Linked DNA regions of Homo sapiens: region 1 is linked to region 2. Evidence: promoter capture Hi-C in human tissues and cell types (Jung and others, 2019). All regions are on one chromosome and are shown on one strand. Each heading gives the region's core, a stretch centred on a gene start or on the middle of the fragment in contact. The rest is flanking DNA. Distances are from core to core; before and after follow the strand shown. Region 1 overlaps RIMBP2 (RIMS binding protein 2). Region 2 holds the start of RIMBP2 (RIMS binding protein 2).

Region 1 (4,678 bases), core at 943-3,442, 300 kb after region 2:
TATTCAAGCCATTGTCTCTTTGGTCCCAAAACATTTGTCTTCAGCACCAGCAGCAGCAACCAAAAGAGACCCCCCCACAAGGAATTATTTTTGCCCTCACCCCACCATGCGCCCAGCAGCGGCTCCGAGTAGACAGTGGGGTGCTGGTGCCCGGCTTTGTTCTCTCCCAGGCCATTCAGCTAACCTTTCAGTTAAAAGCTAAGTTTAGTTGCCTTTACAGATTCTGCTTTTCAACCCGCTTGATTTGGCTAACTGAATTCTTCAGTTCCCAATGCTGGCGAGACTTACGACTTTGTTGTTGTTTTGTCTTTAGATTTTAGGGAACCCAGCCTCTGCAGGACGGGTGGATCACATGGGCCGGAGGTTTCCCCGTGGCAGCGCTGGTCCTCAGAGGTCCCGGCCCGTGACAGTCCCATCCATCGGTTAGTGGCCCCATCATCGCTGTTGTGTCTTTCAGCCGCGGAGCATGTGGCTGCTTACTCCATCTAAGCATGAACAAAACTTTAGGAGTAGCATTTTCCGCTAAGCAAAGAACACTGTTATTCATGGCAAAAAGAAGGCAGGAACAGCACAAGATAAATGAAAGCTATTTGTAAGTATTCTTGAAATATCAAATTGGCCTTCTACATCCATGTTCTCCCAGCTGATTTTTTCCTGGAGAGCTTCACAGGGTAAGCACTGAAGGGGGGACCACTTTGTGTCACCTCCCTCATCCTGGCATGGGCTCCCTGGGACACTCAGGGTCACAGTCCATGGCAGGTGCAGAAGCTGGATGTCAGCGTGCCTCAGGGGTCTGTGAGCCCCACCCGAGGGAATGCTGCCTGTCTGCAGAAGACACGCTGGCAGCAGAGCTAAATCCTGGGGGACACCGTGCAGCTGAGTGTGCCCCTGAAATGTGTGCTCCCCACATCCATCTGGGCACCTCCCTTGCTCATGAGTCGTCATCTGGCATTCCGTTTCCATTCTCTTCCTGACTTTTTGGAATTCAGCCAGCCATGCTGAAAGCTATCGTTTTAGTCATCCTAATCAATCCATGGAGGGGGATACTTCTATTATTGGAATCAATCATGGCAAGGAGAATTCCAAAAAGTATTATGCACAAGATAATGGAAGCTGGTCATCAGCACAGAGGAACCAGGCTTCTATGAAAACACACACACACACACACACACACACACACACATATAAATGCAGGGAGAACTCTTGATACAGCAGAAATAGATGAGGAGAAACCGTCTTGGTTTGGCATGACAGGGCTCAAGGAGGATAACTTCTGGATAGTCTAGGCCACTGAAAAGCCACCTGGAATCTCGTTGAAATAGCTGAAGTTTAAAAGGCCATTGGTCTTTTCCATCAATTCAAAATGAAGAAAGGCTTCATAAAGCAAAACAGATTCTTTGAAATTGTGTCCTGCCAGACTTTTTCTTCCTTGTACAATTCAAACAATAAGAAAAAAATTCCATCTTCACAGCTTTTAGATTGTGTTTATGTTTCTCTGGTAAAAATTTCATGCAATGTTAAAGATCCTTAGGAAACCGTATTTTCAGTTAACTGAGTAATAAAAGATGCAGTCAGGCTCACAGAACATTGATGGCACTTATTACAGATCAGCTAGCAGGGTTAGTGGAGCCCAGATTCCTTTCGGGTATTCTAAACCTAGTGTGTGTCTCTCAAATCTTCATTCAATTCGTGTGTCGTTCCCTCTGGAGGGACTATGGAGCTTAATAAATCGGTTCTCCTGGCTTTCATGTTAAATGACCTGTCCGAGATGTCCTGCCTTGAGAAACGATGTGGGGAAAAGGCCAATCCCCCTGTTCAAGGCTCTCATTCTCTCTCTGTGGTTAGGGTGAGATTTCGAGTCTTCATTTGACTGTAACTTTAATGAGTGAAGACTGCAAGCATGGCTCAGGAAGTGACCTGGGGATGGTGTAGCCGCTGAGAAGTTAATGCTGTAGGCGCTCAGAAAGGACGTCCTTTGGAAGAGGCATGGTAGGTCTTCTACTCCAGTCTCCTAGGACTGAGAACTGAAAATTGTGCTGTGACAAATCAGCACTTGAGCCAGGAAGTCCAAGAAAACCAACCCTGGGCCTGCAGTCTTGCCAGGGTGACCCTCGCTGTCAGAGTCTGGTTTAAATCTACTGTCCTGGGTTGTCTTGTTGCTTGGACTTAGACTCAATATTGGCTTAAATAATTATTTTTTGTCTCCGCTTTGGTTTGCTATTTTCCTAGATCAGTATTGCTTTTCAAATGGCTGTATATTGTTGAGACTTTTTTTTTAAAACTGCATTCATCAGCAGTGAGAAGCTTTAAAGTTTTATTAGTATCATAAAAACCCTTCCCAAATGAAACTACTTTTGATGAATGTGGTTGGATTTTTCTGAAGCCGTAGAATTCCAAAGGCTGCATGCGTGTCTTAATTTCAGTAGCACACTTGTTAAATTGGGTGAAAGAGCAAATCTATGTCAACACCTTAACAAGGAAAAAGCCTCTGAACATAACTCAGAAAAGAGTTAACTGACAAACCTATGATAGGTTTGCTTTAATTGTGCTGACTTCTTATCATGTAGCAAGCCGGGACACCACATAAAATAACTCTAACCAGATACTTTACACACAAATACACATCTCAGCACCTATTATGGTTTCAAAAGGAAACAGAAGCGGAGGGTGCTTATCACCCACCTGAGGAGGAGGAGGACTCGGCAAAGAGCTTTGGGAAATGAACATCAGTGACAGCTGAACAGACAGGATATTCCTCTAGTTGTCATTTACTTCTATTTTTCTTGTGAAAATACTAGAAAACAATATTTTAGAAATCTATATTTCAAAGGATTACTTATCTTTTTCAGAGGAAATTAAGTCTGTAAACCATACACTTCCTATTTTTAATAAGCAGTGGACCTACAATGAAAAATAATATAAATTTTAATATTTTCTGGATTTCCAAAATTTAAAAAATGTCCTTCATGATTAAAAAACAAAATTATGTGGCTTCAAATATATACTTAATTAGGTTTGATTTTTATCCTTTATAACTTTTGGTCTTTGCATTTATCTAGTTGTTGACCTGTCAGACAGAAGGCCTGTAGCTTCACTCTTCTAAAACCGAAGCACCACGTTCAAGAGGATTCTGTTCTTAGGAATCAACTCTGAATATCTCCTCTGTATTCTCCCATTTTTTGTTATTTTGGCTACTGAGCCTACAAAGTGAGGAAAGTCCAGCGTGTTTTCTTTGTGTCCAGGGAGGAAAAATAAAAACATTAGTAACTCTATTGACAAAGCTTTGCCCCTTAAAAAGGGGAGCTCTTTTCTTCAGGTTTCCCTGCAATAAAAAAAATCAAAAGCTGTCAACTCTGTTTAATAGATGATTCCCTTTATCTCCATAGAAATTACAACGGACAGTAGCAGTGAGGGCAGTCGGTCTGGGCCAGGTAGTGAGGGAAACCTCTCTCCTGTAGAAGACGGTGCTTATTCTTATGGCACCAGTGGATTTGGGAGCCCACCCAGGCGTCCAGGCATGAGCCCTGATCTCCCACACGATATGCACACCCTTCCTCCTAACAAAGACCCCTTGGGCCAGCACACTTCCTCAGCAGGATGGGAGGCAGTGCCCACTCCCCCCAGGGTCAGACAGACAGCTGTAGGTAAGTGCTTCTTTCAGTCTCGCCTGCCATCACCAAGGACAAGGGACCCCCAACTGCCCAGTCCAGTCTGCAGTGAAGCCAAGTTTCCATGGACACATTCCAGGGAGGCTGCTACTCTTTCCCTGTCGAGGTTTGGTGCTCATAACACATCCAGTGCATCCTCTCTGGAAGAACATACGGTGGAGTCACCGCATACGCTGATTTTATTCACATACGTTCAACTCCAAGTGCTCCACCCACCTCTACCCCACACCTGTCTTCCCCCCAAAACAACGTGACATTGTGGGCAGTTCTCTGGAAGGAGCCTTCGTTGGGGGACTGGCCTCAGGCAGCTCTGTGTTGGGGTGTCTGCCTAAATGCCTCCCGTGGTGTGGCCAGTTGCATGGTCCATGTGAGTTTGGACTTGAAGACACAAAGATGTTTTCACAGATCATGGTCCTTGAGTATAAGCCACCTACTGAGAAAATGCACTCTTACGTAGGCTATAGGAGGGACCTGAAAGATTTTCAAGGGGTATGTTGACCACACCCAACTCTCTCTAGAATCTGACCTTAGCCCCTGACCCCTCTGCACGTTTTGATGCCACAAACTTGCCACATAAACTCAGCTGGGAAGTGCTGAGAACTTGCTTGGAAAATGGTGTAGCCAGAGGTTCTCCTCCACTGGCATTTTTCCGTACCTGGAACTGCATTCACTAGATCACACTGACATGGTCATTAAGTTCCTCCAGCAGATCTCCAGCAGAATGGAAAGCAGGCGTCCTTCTCATGCAGCCACAGCTGTTCTCCACCATCATCCCTGGGTGTGAGCAGGGGCTGCACAGCTGTGCCTGTTGTAGAGGCCATGGAGCGCTTCACATTCTATTGAACTCAGATACCACTTGAAACTAGAAAAAAGTCAGGTTTTTTCATGGACTATCAACAAAATCATAACAGCCTGGAGAAATTAATGAAGGCTGCTGTGGAAAAGGTTTGTTCCCTGGCAGAAATTACTGACATTTTAGATTAGGCATTCAAAAAAGACTCTGAATCTCA
Region 2 (4,419 bases), core at 88-2,587:
AAATTCAGAGGCATATAATTCAGAAGCCTATCCGGGAGGCCAAAATGAGTCCTGACTGGGAAAACTCGCTGGACCCGTCTGCCACAGTGTTGAAAAAGTTGTCTTGGGAAGAGGTTTCCTCTGGCTGTCTAGGTTTGAGACCTTTGCGATTCCTTTAAGATCACAAGCAAAACCACGGTGATGGTAGGATGTGTTGGTTTTACTAAGGAGCCCATTTTTTAAAAAACTTGTAAAGTGAGCCTTAATTGGAGAAGCAACAGAAAGCACCTCGGGACAAGTCCTTCCTTTTTGTACAAAGGACCCGTGGTGAGCCCTTCCTTGGAATTCTCGTGTCCTACACTCGAGTCTTGTCCCTGCACAGGGCCATCATTAGTAGGAGCCCTCAGAGCCTCAATTAGGGTATGTGGAGCCCAAAATACCAAAGGGGCTTTCCTCCGCATGAGCTATCTTATTCAGCACCTTTCAGTAACAAGCCATGGGATTTTTACCCCAGGGAAGGAAGCAAGTGTGTGAAGTCCGTGCGTGTTTCCCAGGGTTTTTTCCCTCCTGCACCACCCGGTTGCTAGGTAGCGGGTATATCTGTGCCACCACCTGAAGTTCTGTGGGAAGGGGGAATCTGCGGGGCCACTGGAGGCTTGGGGTGGGGAGGGGAGCCGGACAGGAGAGCAAAGACCCAGGCAGCTTGGGTCGCTCCTCTTCATCACTTAATTCTGAGGGCGCTTGAGTTTCTGAGCTTCCTGGAGTAGAGCCCAGGGCAGCTTTTACTTTGATGTGCTGATCGGTTGCCTGTCGGTTGCAGGAGACCCCCGGCCTCCTGCAGGGAAGATCCTGTGCTGTTTTCCCAGGGATGGAGAGAAAAGCACCAACCCCAAGCCCCGCATGGCTGAGAGCTGTTTGCCTCCATCTCTGTCCGAGCTTTTCACCACAGCTCTGTGAAAGAAACTGGCAGTGAGGGGTATAGCCATCTTGGTGTGTGTATGCGCACGTGTGTGTGCATGTGTATTTGTGTGTGTGTGTGTGTGCGTTCAAACACTGACGTTTCAGAGGCTCTGGTTACTGCTGCATGGCGGATGATCCTCTCTCTCTCCCTCTCTCTCCCTCCCTCTCTCCCTCTCGACCTGCTTGCCTGCCTGCAGAAAACTAATGAATCATGTCTAGCTGAATGCAAGCAGTGCAGACACACCAATGCCCTGCAATGTTGACTGGGCGCCGCCTCTGCCTGCCTCTCGCTCCCTGTCTCTCCCTCTGCTGCTCCCTCCCTCCCTCTCTCCCTCTCCCCCTCCTCCCTCCCTCCTTCTCTCCCTCTCCCCCTCCTCCCTCCCTCCGTCTCGCCCCCAGTTTGTAATCTGACACAGTACACTGCAGTTGTCTCCGAGGTGAACCTCCGGAGCCTTGGCACAGCTCGCTTCTAAAGGTAGGCTGAGATTTATTTTTTTCTCCTAAAAATAGCTTCCCGTCTCCCCTCGCCTTTCTGCACCCGAGCTGCAGCGGCGTTGATCACAGGGGGTTAGCCGGAAACTCTTTGCCCAGACAAAGTTTATCTTGCAGCGGATGGAGAATGCCCTTCAGCGTGGGGTCCGGGGGCGCTGGGTGCGGGGAGCAGCGGCTCGCCCTGCTGGCATGTCGGTGCTGCTTGGAATTCAGGATCGTCTCGGAAGGGAAGGGCTGACGGGCTTCTTCCTGGGTGCCGGGTGTCAGCTGCAGGGGTGCTGTGGCTCTGTCATGGCCCCCACCCCAGGCTTTTAAGAAAGGCCCCTCCAGGCAAAGTTTGGCACCCGATGGACACGGCCCCGCTCGCCTGGGGAGTGCGCCCCAGGCTTCTCAGACAGCAGCGGCTCAGGGCCTGGACTTGTCTTCTTGGGGGCGGGGTGGAGGGGGGGAAGGGGACGTGGGACAAACACATCAGAGTCCCCAGCTCGGCTCAGGTGCAAATGCACAAAGCCCGCAGGCTGCGCCCAGGAATCTGTCAATTCACGTCCCATGGACTGACTTGAATAATGTGTTTGTCAAAACAGATGTTCCCCGGCAGAGTGTGTGCGTGCATGCGTGTGCCTGTGTGAGCAGTGTGCGCGGGCTGCTGGCCGGGGGCAGACTCTCCCAGTGGAAACCGTATTTCACCGGGAAAGGCAGCGCGTACGGGACCACCCGCCCAGGAGCTTAGGTCTGGGTAGGTCCAGGTGGGGGCCCGGACATCTGTCAGCAGAGGCCTCGGTGGAAGCAGCCTCCCTCCTGTCCCCGGGGAGCGCACGCTGGCTGAGGTCGGGGTGGCGGCTGGCCGGAGGGAGGGAGGACTGCTTCACCTCCCGGCCTGGTCACTGGCCCCGGGGGAGGCGGGGGTGCTGGCTCCGTGCCTGCGTGGCCTCTGGGTCCCTGGAGGTTCTTAGGGTGAGTGAGGAGGGAGGGAAGGGGACCCTGTCCAGCCCCATATTTCTCTCACGGAGGAGCCCTGAAGGAGACTCTGCTCACAAGGGTGAAAACCCCACTTCGTCCAGGGAAGGGAAATGTCACAGATGGAGCAGGCCTGAGAGGAGGGAGAGCGGCTCCCTCTGAAAATGGAAGATCGGTGGGAAGAGGAGGTGTCCGGGCTCTGGGCCCTGCGGCAGGCCAGGCTGCTGGGCTCTGAGCAGGAGTGGGCAGGGGAGGGGAGCTGGCGTGCAGGCTCACTCACCCGGTTTCTAAGGGGAACAGTGGGGGAAGGCTCTAAAAAATCACCACCTCCCCCACGCACATGGCCCCTCCCTGGCTCCCTCCCAGCCTTGCTGGGCTGTCCGGGAATCAGCTTCAGACTCATCCCCCGCTGGGCTGTGGGGTCTTGGCTTGTCCTGTGAGACATGATCCCAAGCTCCCAGTGGGATGGGCAGGGTCTGACCGGCTCCGGAGGTTCCCTGGGGGCACGGTGTGAGGGGAAGGCCGGCGGGCACCCCTTCTGCAGTGGGGGGTGGTGGGGCGTGCCTGGGGTCGAGGGCTGTGCCGTGGCCATATGGCAGCCGCCTGGGGCCCAGAGTGGAGCCCTTCCAGGTTATTTCAGGGAAGGCGCTGGCAGCGGCTATTCCCCCGTGCCCCTTCCTAGAGGATGGCAAACTGGGTCAGGGAGAGGGTGGCACTGCCCACGTGCCCGGGAGACAGGAAGATGCTGGCGCTATGGGGGCCGCCCCCCACGCAGGAGGCAGGCGCCACGCAGCCCTCCCCGGGGCATAGCAGCCGGCCTCCCCCATGCTGCAAGCCCGGCAGAGAACCCCAAGCCTGCAGAGTCCGGGGGTGGGCGTGGGTGGTGGAGAAGCCTCCCAGGTGAGGCCAGCGTGCAGCCGGGCTGAGAGCTCCTGGCCATGAAGATGAAAAGACAAGCGGTGGGCCCTACACTGTAGCTTTCAGTTTCATCTCTTTGGCCCCATGCACTGTTGGCGCCTGGAAGAGACCAGCATGTGCTCAGGGGGCGGGAGGAGAGGCAGGAGCTGGCTCTTTCCTGAGCTTGCTTCGCTTTCCATTTCAAATCCACCCCCTGCCACGTTTGTATTTTTGGAGTCTGGTTGAAGTTTTAATTGGAGCAGCGATTCTCACACGTTGGTGAGCGCTGGCATCCTGGCGGGTGGGTTAAGGGGCTACAAATCTCAGAACCTCTGATCCAGCAGGTCTGGGGAGGAGCCGGGAATCCGCATTCCCACGCAGTCCCAGGGGAGGTGGAGGCATCCAGGGACCCCACTTTGAGGATCCTTGAATACAGCGTGACCAGGAGGCGCTTTACGCATCTCTGGGGCATGTTGCCAGCTCTCTGTTGGCCTTTGGCTGAGGTCATACATGAAGCTGAGTGCACGCCTCATAGGTTGGTCTAGACCCGCAAGTGCCAAACCTCAGGGACCAGAGGGCCTGACCCGGGAGCTTCCTTTGTGTCCGGGAGTCTCCCTAGGGCACGGCAATGAGCATCTGTTCCAGGTGGGCGGAGACTTGCCGGCTGAACGTCTCAGTGTTTCCCACTTCTGCCCCAAGGTTTGGAATCCGCGTGGTGCTGGGAACCCGGGGGAGAACCGGATCGGCTGTGCTGGTCTCTTGTTGATCAAGCAGAGCTGCTGATTCCAGAAAACTCTGTTCTCCACTTACCTCATCCCGTGTAGATAGTGGTAGTGCATGGCTTATGTCCTCAGTTTCTCTTTTGACTTTCACCCATTTGAAAAGCTGTCTGATCCCCTATGGTGTGGGAGGAGGCTTGCAACCAGCTGAGGACACCTGCATCTCTTGTTGGTGATGCTGGTGCCACCACCCTTGTGTGCAAAGGGCAACCAGCTGAGGACACCTGCATCTCTTGTTGGTGATGCTGGTGCCACCACCCTTGTGTGCAAAGGTTTCACTGAACCATACTCCTCAGTCCTTCCTTCCTTCCTTCCTTCCTTCCTTCCTTCCTTCCTTCCTTCCTTCCTTCCTTCC

Evidence for each region. The method cuts DNA at HindIII sites, captures the fragments that hold promoters and counts their contacts. A contact is called where the count stands out against the background at its distance.
Region 1: a contact is called between a fragment that was not itself captured here and the fragment with the promoter of RIMBP2 in region 2, in 3 of the 25 tissues and cell types used here (H1 embryonic stem cells, dorsolateral prefrontal cortex and heart left ventricle).

Annotation. Positions count from the first base shown.
Region 1 is chr12:130,418,197-130,422,874 of GRCh38, reverse strand. RIMBP2 (RIMS binding protein 2) reads left to right here. Exons shown (of 23, transcript NM_001393629.1): 17 at 314-422. It also overlaps a transcript of PIWIL1 not described here. Among named protein-coding and RNA genes, the nearest start is that of PIWIL1, 83 kb to the right of the region's middle. The HindIII fragment of the contact is 6,443 bases long and covers 1-4,678 here.
Region 2 is chr12:130,713,217-130,717,635 of GRCh38, reverse strand. It overlaps RIMBP2 (RIMS binding protein 2), which reads left to right and starts at 1,337. Exons shown (of 23, transcript NM_001393629.1): 1 at 1,337-1,414. The HindIII fragment of the contact is 10,761 bases long and covers 1-4,419 here.